2 separate regions of the Homo sapiens genome follow, and region 2 is linked to region 1. The links are contacts of gene promoters, found by promoter capture Hi-C in human tissues and cell types (Jung and others, 2019). All regions are on one chromosome and are shown on one strand. The core of a region is centred on a gene start or on the middle of the fragment in contact, and the rest is flanking DNA. Distances in the headings are between cores, read along the strand shown. Region 1 holds the start of OR13C4 (olfactory receptor family 13 subfamily C member 4). Region 2 overlaps LOC107987105 (a long non-coding RNA gene).

Region 1 (5,979 bases), core at 2,053-4,552:
TCGAATCTGTTTACTGTTAGAATTTCAGTAACAGCAGATTACTGTCCTCAGTGATTCTAGATGATCAAAGGTAGTGAAGGCAAAGAATAAAAATCTCTCCTCATAATTTTGCTTTTCTCAGATAAAGTCCTCAATAGTTGCACAATAATGCCATTTCTATGCTGCTTCTTTTAATTTTAAATGACAAAAATTGTACATATTTATGGTACACAAGATGATCTTTTAATACAAGTATTGTATTAGTCCATTTTCATACTGATATGAAGAAATACCTGAGACTGGGTAATTTATAAAGAAAAAGAGGTTTAATGAACTCACAGTTCCACATGGCTGTGGAGGCCTCACAATAATGGCAGACGTCAGAGGAGGAGCAAGATGAGATTTGGGTGGGGACACAGCCAGACCCTATCATTCTGCCCCAGCCCCTTCCAAATCTCATGTCCTCACATTTCAAAACCAATCATGCCTTCCCAACAGTCCCCCAAAGTCTTAACTCATTTCAGCATTAACTTAAAAGTCCATGGTCCAAAGTCTCATCTGAGACAAGGCAAGTCCCTTCTGCCTATGAGCCTGTAAAACCAAAAGCAAGTTAGTTACTTCATAGATACAAAGCGCATATAGGCACTGGGTAAATACACCCATTCCAAATGGAAGAAATTGACTAAAACAAAGGGCTACAAGCTCCATGAAGTCCAAATCCAATAGGGTAGTCATTAAACCTTGAAGTTCTAAAACGATCTCCTTTGACTCCATGTCCAGGTCACACTGATGCAAGAGGTGGGCTCTCATGGCCTTGGGCAGCTCCACCACTGTGGCTTTGCAGGGCACAGCCTCCCTCTCGGTTGCTTTTACAGGCTGGCTTTTCTAGATGCATGGTGCAAGATGTTGGTGGATCTACCATTCTGAGTTCTGGAGGACAATGGCCCTCTTCTCACACCTCAACTAGGCAGTGCCCCAGTGGGGACTTTGTGCGGGGCCTCCAACCCCACATTTCCCTTCTGTGCTGTCCTAGCAGAGGTTCTCCATGGGGGCCCTGCCCCTGCAGCAAACTTCTGCCTGGACATCCAGATGTTTCCATAAATCTGAAATCTAGGCAGAAGTTCCCAAACCATTCTTCACTTCTGTGCACCTGCAGGCTCAACAATATGTGGAAGCTGCCAAGGCTTGGGGCTTGCACCCACTGAAGCCATAGCCCAAGCTTTACCCTGGCCCCTTTTAGCCATGACTAGAGCAGCTGGGACACAGGGCAACAAGTCTTTAGGCTGCACACAGCAGGGTGGCCCTGAGCCTGGCTCAGGAAACCATTTTTTCCTCCTAGGTCTCCAGTCCCGTGATGGGAGGGGCTGCCAGGAAGGTCTCTGATATGCCCTGGAGACTTTTTCCCCACTGTCTTGGCAATAACATTTGGCTCCTCATTACTTATGCAAATTTCTGTAGCAGGCTTGAATTTCTCCTCAAAAAATAGGTTTTTCTTTTCTATCGCATTGTCAGGCTGCAAATTTTCCAAACTTTTATGCTCTGCTTCCTCTTGAATCCTTTACCTACTTATAAATTTCTTCTGCCAGATACCCTAAATCATCTCTCTGAAGTTCAAAGTACCACAGATCTCTAGAGCAGAAGCAAAATGCCACCAGTTTCTTTGCTAAAGCATAACAAGAGTCACCTTTGCTCAAGTTCCCAACAAGTTCTTCATCTCCATCTGAGACCACTTCAGCCTAAACTTTACTGTCTATATCACTATCAGCATTTTGGTCAAAGCCATTCAGCAAGTCTCTAGGAAGTTCCAAACTTTCCCACACTTTCCTATCTTTTTCTGAGCTCTCCAAACTGTTCCACCTCTGCTTATTACCTAGTTCCAAAGTCACTTCCACATTTTCAGGTATCCTTATAGCAGCACCCCACTACCTGTTACCAATTTACTCTATTAGTCCATTTTCATACTGCTATGAAGAAATACCCAAGACTGGGTAATTTATAAAGAAAAGCAGGTTTAATGGACTCACAGTTCCACATGCCTAGGAGGCCTCACAATCATGGTGGGTGGTGAAGGAGAAGCAAAGGCACATTTTACATGGTGGCAGGCAAGAAAGCAGGTACAAGGGAACTGTGCTTTTAATGAAACCATCAGTTCTCATGAAATTTATTCACTATCACGAGAGCAGCATGTGAAAAACCCACTCCCATGGTTCAGTTACCTCCCACCAGGTCAATCCTACAACATATGGGGACTATAGGAGCTACAATTCAAGAATTGGATGGGGACACAGCCAAACCATATCATATGTACATTGTCAAATGGCTAAGGCAAGCTAATTATACATAAAAGACCCATATATCCCTTTGATCTTACTGGTTAATAGCTTTCCTGCTCAGCAAATATTTTATAGCAGCTTTTACATCTTTATTTCTCAAGCTATAGATTATGGGGTTTAACATGGGGGTCACAACCCCATAAAACATGGAAACAAGCCCCTCTGTAGCTTGCAAGTTGTCTTTCCCAAGGAGGTCCTGGGACTTAGGTTTTGCATACATAAAGAAGATGGTACCATAAAATATGATCACCACAGTCAGGTGAGCTGAGCATGTAGAAAATGCCTTGTGTCTTCCTGTGGCCGAGTTCGTTCGCAAGATGGTGTAGAGGATGAACATATAGGAGAAAAAAATCACGAGCAGAGGAAGAACTAGGAAAGCAATATTTGACACTGCTAGGGTAACAATATTGACAGATATATCAGAACAAGCTAATTTTAGGACAGCTAAGATCTCGCATAAGAAATGATTAATAATATTGTTCCCACAGAAAGGCCATCGCATGGCAAGTGATGTTTGCACAGTTGAATTGATTCCACCAGAAAGCCATGATACAGAAGTCAGCAGTACATACACCACCTTGTTCATGATGATGGGGTATCTCAGAGGGTTACAGATGGCCACATAACGATCAAATGCCATCATGCCAAGGAGGAAACATTCTGTTGACCCCATTGCAAACCCAAAGAACATCTGCACTGCACATCCAGAGAAGGAAATGTTTCTTTTCTTTGAGATTAAGCTCACCAGTGTTGAGGGAATGGAGGAGGTTGTATAGCAGATATCCAGGAAAGAGAGGTTGCCCAGGAAGAAGTACATGGGCATGTGAAGACGAGAATCCAAGATGCTTGCTATGATCAGAACACCATTGCCAATTAGAATCACTACGTACATAACTAGAATCAGAGCAAAGAAAATGATCTCAAGTTTGGGGTAACCAGAGAGTCCCAGAAGAATGAATTCTCTCACAAATGTCTGGTTTATCTTGTCCATGTCCCAGCTTTCAGGATGCCAAAGGAAGACCCAATGTATAATATTTTCACAGCCAAGCAACAAATGTAAAAAATAACTTGAATAAACATTACTCTAGGGTGAAATAGAGACTGTTTGTTTTAAAGCTCTGCCATTGAGTTATCTTCAATAGTATTTGTGCCTAGAATACAGCCACACTAGGATGTTTAGAGTTTCTATGCCCTGTATCTAATATGTGAAGATCTACCTAGGATCAGAAGTAAATACAGACACAACTTTTCTTATTGTTGAGGACATCCCAAGTTGAGTTTTCTAAAAGCCTTAGATTATTGCAGACAACAAACCTAACTTCTTCATTTAGTCAAGCCCAGTGAGAGAGCTGCAAAGAAGAAAAAAGACAACTCAACAAGAACCAGAATTTTGACCCAGCGTTTAATAGAAATGTTCAGAATTTTAAAGCAGGTTAGATGTTCACATACATTTGTTTGTCTGCCTAAAACTCTGAATGTCTTTCCAGTCAGATAAATGTGTATTTTTATAGGGAAGATATTTGATAATAGTAAATTGAGCCCCACACACTGCAATTTAACATCTGTTCAAAGGTAAAGTTATTTGTTGATCTCATTCTAACATCCCACTCTTACTATTTTGTTATTCCCTATGACAAGATCATGGTGTAGACCAGCTCTACAAGTATATGATGGAGAATCTTTGGAGAACAATACATGATCTCTATTTGTTTTACCATGGCTTCAGAGTTAATCTTGAGAATTCATTTAAGTAAACCTGAAAAAAGAGGAATAATAGTCAAACATATTTGTGTGTATGTGTGTGCAGCACTTTACAAAAGCAAATGAATCTTCTCATTATCCTTAATTTGCTTTTCTCAAATGTAAAAGACAGAATGTGGCCTATATGTACAAAGGGAAACTTAAAGCTCAGCTCTTTGGATGGCAACACCAAAAGTTATTTTACCTTGTTTTCGCAAAGTACTATCCAAAATTTTTAGCTTTGATGGAATTTCAATTTTTCAAATTTCATATGCACATAAATCACCTGAGGATACTGTTAACATGTAAATTTTATGTTAGCACGTCTGGGGCAAGGCCTGTGATTCTTCATGTCTATTAAGTTCCCAGGGTATGTTGAACCACTGAGATGAGGGCACATTTTGTGTAGCAAGACATTGGTTTATCTATAGTGATTTAGTAGAGTATCCAGAGATTTCTGATCCAAATAGATTTTCTTTTGTGTTATTATATGGACTGGCTTAACAACCTGGAAAATGACTGAAAGCCTAATTCTTTTGTGTTTGCCAGCATACTCCAGGGCCACATCTTGCTGTTCAGTATACTTCAGAAAATAAATGCTATTGAAACATTTTATGAAAGCAGGATAAACTTTTGCTGGACTGCTATAATATGGGTATGATATTACTGATTTCCTAACTTGAGCACAGTCCTCTTCCAACACAAGTAAGGGTGGAAAAAGTATGACACAACATGTCTACCATCAAAAAGTTCATAATTCAATAACAAAAACACAAAAACTACACATGGAACAATTTGATAAAGAATATTATTATATCATGTGGCCAGGGTGAATATTATAAGTAACCTCAGAAGGAGGAAGTAAAGGAGAAATAAATAAATCACGTGAGGGTCCTGAAAGAATTTCAAAGTTATACCAGGTCTGGAAGCACAAAAGGAATGGGGCAGGTTTGGAAGAGAAGAGAGAAACAGGGCTATTCCAGAAGGGAGAGCAGCTTAATGTTTTAGAGGAGCAGATTGGCAGTACCAGGGGAGTTTCAGCAGAAACACAACTGAAAAGTTAATGAGGCAGGCATATAGAAGGGCCCAAAGGTTAGGAAGAAAAAAAATGGCATTCCCTTTTGTATGTAAGGGACTTATTATTAGATAAGAACACCCAGCACAAGGTGATTGCTTAGCCCCTGTAACTTTAGCTACCTTTCAAACCTGACATTATATAATTTGATTTTATGAGGTTTTGAATAGACATGTGACACAAGGAATTAAGATGCTTAGATTAATTAGGTTATTATCAATTACTGCCTGGTACACACATACACACACACAGCCCATCATCATCTTTTCATAACCTCCAGTTTTTAGGTTAACCAAAATTGCAGGTTTAGGGCTCACGTGGGCTAACAGTTTTGAGAATATCTGCAGAGGCTCAACCCCTACTCTAACATTCAGTTTGTTATGTGATGATAAGTGAAAAATTTCTCTACAGTGTGTGATGTCTTGGAGTCAGAAGCCAAACCAGACAGAGGGATTCTCACTTCAGAAACAGTTTAAAGAATACCAGTAGAACATCTGAACTTTTAAGAGAAGCACAAATAAATGTTGGATCTCCAAATTAGAGATGAGAAAATTAAGCCTCAAAGAAATTTTAAATCTATATTTCCTCAGCTTAAGACTAGAAGTACCTATTGAAAAAAAAAACAAATGCTTTTTGTTTATTTAAGTGAATAAAATCACTTAAACAACTTCTATTGCAGACTTCTATGTGCCAGATCCTGTGCTTGAAATTTGCTTACCTGGCTGAGGTCACATGACTAGCACAGGCAAAGGCAAAATCCAAAGCCCATTCTCCTTCCACTACTTCTCTCTCTAAAAGGTAGCATTAAAATCTGTATAGAAATCATGTGTCAACAACAGAGAACAGTCAGTG
Region 2 (5,979 bases), core at 2,234-4,733, 52 kb after region 1:
AAGTAGTATTATTATAATAGACATATAATATTTTATTTTAAGGGAATACATAACTTTCATTTTATTTTAATATGTATGTTTTCTACTACATACAACAACATAGGGGTTGAAGTAAAAAGAAGGAAAAAGTATACTAGGCAAGTAACAATCAAAAGCTGATGTTTCTATATTAATATGTGACAAAATTGATTTAAGATCAAAAAGCATTACTAGAAGTAAAAGAGGAAGTTGCATTATGATAAATGTTTATTTAATCAGTAAAACATGAATTGTAAGCTTTATTCTCCTAATAAAACAGCCTCAATATATAAAAGAAAACTCAATATAACTACATATCATCTTAAGCACTGAAAGAATAAACAGACAAATATAAGGATCAACAGATTTGAACAAAAACATTAACGAGCTTATCAGCCCAACTATTATGGAATATAGATTCTTCTAAAACACATTTGAGACATTTGCAAAAATTGATATTATGTTAGGCTGAAAGCAAGAATCAGTAAATTTTAAGGAAGCAATATTAAACAGTCATATTCTCTTTCCTATATATGATTAAATTAAAGGTAATTAATTAATTTAAAAGTTCCATAACCTGAGACAATTAAAACGCACTTCTAAGTGATTGAGTAGCAGCGATGTTCAAAATATTTAACTTCTGTGGCAAGTGTTCTAGTAAATTAGAATAAATATTTGCCATAAACAACCAGTGTGGCCATAGTAATTAGTGTGTGCCAGCAGTGTCAGCCCTTGCTCATAGGTAAGAGAAAAAAATTACAAACAAAAAAATTAAAATTACAACCCCCAAATTAAAATCTCATAAAACCATGCTTAAGACTGCAGCCAGTAGTACAGCTGTATTACTTGTTTATAGTTGGTGTCCATTCTGATCGGGTGGCAGCTATGCCATAGTCTTTGTTAAATACATTCACTATTAATCCTGCTAAGAAATAAAGTGTACTTGAATAATGCATATTAACCTTTACCAGGTTCAGAAAAAGTAACTTTTTCTGGAAAATGTTTATACTTAAATTCTTGTAGAAAACTTGACTTCATAAGGAAGAAAAAAGGAAGGAAACAAAAGGAAAGAAAGACAATGAGAAGGAACAATCTAAGTAATTTGAATTCAGAGAGGATATGCTAAGCATTTTGCTATTTATTCATATTATACTATTTCTAATTAAATCTTCATAGTAATAGTGAAAATTATATTTTCTTGTTCTTAATTTACAGCTGAAGAGACTAAGATTCCTAGAGGTTCTAAGTGGAAAAGCTATGTTTCTTTTCTCTAGATGCCTGCTAGTCAGGAGGGAAACATCTGAAAGTCCAGTTGCTTCTGAGTCATGAAAAATAATCCAAAGGTATTAGAAGGCAAGAGAGTTAATAAAGAGAGTTAAGTTACTGGATTTTACCTTGGTATTTCTCTAAAGCTGTTAAACTGGATACTTAGATTAATTCGGGGGACTATGATGACCAAGTCCTGTGATGATTGTGGCCGTGATGTAGAGTGGATAATAGTTTGACCTTTTCTTGATCCCAGTATTGCATCATCCTCTTGAGAAATTTATGGATATCCCTGTACTCACAGGTAAAGGACAGTAAGCGCTAGGACCAAGGGCTTTAACCAGAAAAACTGCTGAATAAACCTGGGGTCATGGGTTTTCAGCGCGATGTACTTTAGGGAAGATGAGAGGGTGCAAGAAATTTTTGTTAATTAAGAGAGACAGAAAAACTTAGTGGTAAGGAGACTAAATATGTTGTCAAACTGCTTAGATTGGAATCTCACCTCCACATCTATCTTGCTTGCCTATGCAAGTGATTTAATGTCTTTGAACCTCAGTTTTCTGATGTACTGTGAAGGTTAAATGTACCAGCTCACTCATCCACATTTACAGCATTTCTCTCACTGTAGAGAAAGGATGCTTAGTTCAACAAATCAAGGAGGTGGAGAAATAGGGGAGGTTAATTATAAGCAGGTTTACTTGAGGTGATAGCGAATCACCAGGTTGATGGAATCCAGCCGGTATATGGAGATGCAAATTAAAACACTAATGATGGACATTCCATTTGATGCTATAGATGGTGTAATTCTTGATGCAAATATTATAGGTAATGCAGAATATGAGAAAAGTAGAGCAACCGTTACTAACTTCACCCCACCTTCTAAAGAAGAAAGAAATACAAGCACTAAAAGAGAGGCAAGCAGGCTGTCCAAGGGGTGGAAAAAGAGGCATGGCTATGTAGTCTCAGAGATCACAAAATGAAGAGCCTCCAAAGCCAAAGGGACTAACCTAACTCTAAGAATGGATATTAGAGATACTAACATCAAAAATATCAGAGATACCCGTGTAGAAAGAAAGACTCTGACCCAATGAGTTCAGAAATGGTTCCTCTTGGGCATATTGGAGAGGAAACTCTACACCAGTGAAAAGTCCAAAGTTGTCAAGATCAGTAGGACTCTAAACAAAGACGATAGAGCAATTATTTTGCTGAGCCTAGAGAGGAAATTATTTTGACTGTCTCTGGACCAACATCCATAAGGTTTCTAGAGAAATGGGAAAACGAAGAAGGCGACTTTTCCTCGTTGCAAATTAATTAAAAATGAAACAACCACTTCAGTGACTTATGTTTTCTGTAGCTCAGGTAAGGGAACACATTAGACATCATTTATGTCACAAATACATTTAATCCTCATAAAAACCTGAAGATATACATAATTTACACAATAAAGAACAGGTAGTCCAAAAAAGTTATATGAATTGCCCTAGGTCATACAGCTAGGAAGCCACACTGTGGAGGGTGGAGTGCAACTAAAGAGATTCCAAAATTCATACACTTCTTATTACCGCACCGTAGCGCTCCATTTTTTTCTGATTGCTAAAAGACCTGCCAAGACCTCTCTATCCACCTCTGTAGCAAATAGATAATGACAATGTACAGCTCTATATGACCTTTAACCGTGTAAAACAGAGTGCTTCCAGACAGGCCAACCAACTCAGGAAGACCATTTCTTTTCTATTTGTTATCTCTAGCCTGGTAATTTTCTCCCACAGGAATATAAAACACAGTCTAATATTTACACCTGAGCAGGCAACTACATCTCAAAGGACATCATTAAAAGCTGACTGACCTACTTCTCTCTGGTACAAATAGGTTACATAGGGATGATATCCCACGTGCCTGCTAACAGTCTAAAGTCAAGCTTGTTAAAGTGAACTTGTAACTTTTTAACAACACTCTTCCCTCCACAAGTTTTCTGAAGGGAATCTAGGGCTGTTCCTAGGAGATTGATTTCTCCTCTTTAGTTGTAACTAAACAATAAAAAAGGAGCGTATGAGATCATCATGTGGAAAATTTAAAATGGATAATCACTTTATTCTTGGTAAAGAGAGCGGTCCTCTATGAACTGCCATCACCAAGTCATTTAGAAAATGTAATTAGACAGGCTAAAGAAGACTTATTCCAATAGAGACATAGAGTCACAAACTAGTGAGAAAGGGAATATGATAACACATGTATTTTGTTTGGTCACATGGAATTAATGAGATTTGCCACAGTCCTCACCCTTCTATATTGCTTCACATCCAGTCTGTTTCATTCAAATACATCAATTGCATAGCAGTGAAGATATTTGAGTTTGTGACCCCAGAATACATTAAATTATTCAGGTATTTCAATTTCATCCTGGGAAATTAATTCAGGGCCTACATAATTAATGTTATGATTTAAAAAAAAAAAGAATTAGAGTTGTAAGGAAATAGAATGGATCCAACTTTTGGAATGGAGAGTTTTTTCTCCTGCACTGTTCACATATCCAGGACAGCCATGGGATGGAACAATATAAAGGACAATCCTGCAGCACCAAGGATAGGATTCATTAAGACTTTTTTTCCCAACTCTGATTTACGTAATCTACAAAGACACTTAAAGATGGCACAAAGTAAGAGCACAGGGCCAGTAAGATGACTGGCAAATAAACAAAGAATGGTAAGTAAATGATCATACTAATCAGCATGCCTTTGTAATCTGACTATCCATCATGCTGATTCAGAATCACTGTGGAAACTATGACCACCCCCAAACAACAAACTGTTTATTCATCTGAATCTATATAGGTGATATTCTATTAAGTGAGGATACCCAAGCTTTCTAGCAGAGGTTGTATCATAAGTATCTATGAGATGCTTCATTGAGAGTATATTATATTGAATATAACACAAATGTGAGCAAGTGTTCAAGGGTTGATCATGCTGCTTAACTTTTTGTCATGATTGCTCAAATTTGTGATGAAATTTGAGAACTTAAATTTGAATGTCTCAAATAATTATACCATTATTAACATTATTTAGCACCAATCGCAACTAAAAATGTATCTGTATCTGTCCCTTTGACATCTGGTAGCATTTGACACAGGCATCTGCAGTGAGAAGGGAATTGGACCATGCTGACCTTCCATCTCCAGTGTTTCTGCCATACTATGCTCTTCACCCACCCCCACTTCACGCAGAGCTCCAGGAGAAGCATGATGCTCTAGTTCAGCCCTGGCTATTGGGTTGGTTTGAAAGAGCTCAGGTCTTTTAGGGAGCTGAGGCTCTAGGACATACTAGTGAATGTTGCTGGAATGACAGTCCTGAGCTTTGGAAGTATGAGCCATGCTTCTCTCAAACATTTTCTGGTTTATTTTATAGGAACCTGTGCTGCATGTGAAAAAGAAGAACATGTAGTCAGATTGTAGCATTTTCTCTCATTTTGAGACAAATTTCACTGTCCAGAAGAGTATTCTCACAAGACACCAAGTTGTGACCATTTCCCAGTTTGCTATGATTGCGAAACTAGGCCCTGACAGGGATTTATTTTTTAATTAAGAAGTAAGACATAGGCAACAATCAATCATTTAACAAATCTCAGCTGGTATGACATGCTGATAAGCAGAGTAGTGGTTTGAAATGTATCACATTTTGAGAATATCTGCCATGCAACTACCTGGAAAATACACTGAAGGAAGGGAATAGTGGAAGTTGAGAGACCAGTTAGGAAGCTGATGCAAAATGCCATTTTATCTTATTTACAATTGTCAAGATTGAATATATTCAAGGTATATATGTATACATTGTGTAATGATTATCAAAATCAAATTAATTAACACATCCATCACCACCTATGCTGTACTTTAGTTATCTTGTTCATCTTTTTTTTTTTTTTTTTCCGAGACAGGAGCTCACTCTGTCACCCAGCCACGGGTCACTGCAACCTCAATCTCCTGGGCTCAAGTGATCCTCCCACCACAGCATCCCCATAGCTGGGACTACAGTCATGCACCCCCTTGCCCAGCTAATTTTTTGTAGAGACGGGATTTCACCATGTTGCCCAGGCTGGATCTTGTTCACCTAATAACTGGAAGTTTGTACCATCTGACCAATACCTCCCCATTTTCCCCACTCCCAACCCCTGGCAACCACCATTCTACCTCTGCTTCTATGAGTTTGACAGTAATGCCATAATAAGCAGGAACTCAGGACTCGTCAGAGTTGTGTCCTACTCATCTTTGTGCCTACTAACGTGCTTGCTGAACTACATTGACGTGAATACACTTACCAAAAAAAAAGAGCCTCTTCTAATTTAGATGAAATTATCTTAGACAACTTGCTAATACTTTGTTTAATCAAATTCAATAAGTTTATAATTTTGTCTATTAGAAGCAATACATATTTTTCTCAACTCATCAGGAATAGATTTCATTCTTTGGAAACAGTGATTCATTTTGATATTCTTTCCACTGATTTATATAACTTCATACTGAAACAAAATGATTTCATGTCTGTTTTATTTACCAAAATCAATTGAAAGTGATTATTTTTGGCATCAATATTAAGCAAACTATACTCAGATTCACTGATTTATAATCAAATGTAACAATGTTAACCGTTTTTTAAGGAATTCCTATTAAATGCCAAGAATCAAGATAATCACCCTTTAAAC

Evidence for each region. The method cuts DNA at HindIII sites, captures the fragments that hold promoters and counts their contacts. A contact is called where the count stands out against the background at its distance.
Region 2: a fragment that was not itself captured here is called in contact with the fragment with the promoter of OR13C4 in region 1 in 2 of the 25 tissues and cell types used here (liver and small bowel).

The regions. Positions count from the first base shown.
Region 1 is chr9:104,523,907-104,529,885 of GRCh38, forward strand. OR13C4 (olfactory receptor family 13 subfamily C member 4) reads right to left here and starts at 3,303. Exons shown (of 1, transcript NM_001001919.1): 1 at 2,347-3,303. The coding sequence starts at 3,303. The coding sequence ends at 2,347. The HindIII fragment of the contact is 5,847 bases long and covers 539-5,979 here.
Region 2 is chr9:104,575,911-104,581,889 of GRCh38, forward strand. The region is part of intron 3 of LOC107987105 (a long non-coding RNA gene); the gene reads right to left. Among named protein-coding and RNA genes, the nearest start is that of OR13C8, 9.7 kb to the left of the region's middle. The HindIII fragment of the contact is 3,489 bases long and covers 1,740-5,228 here.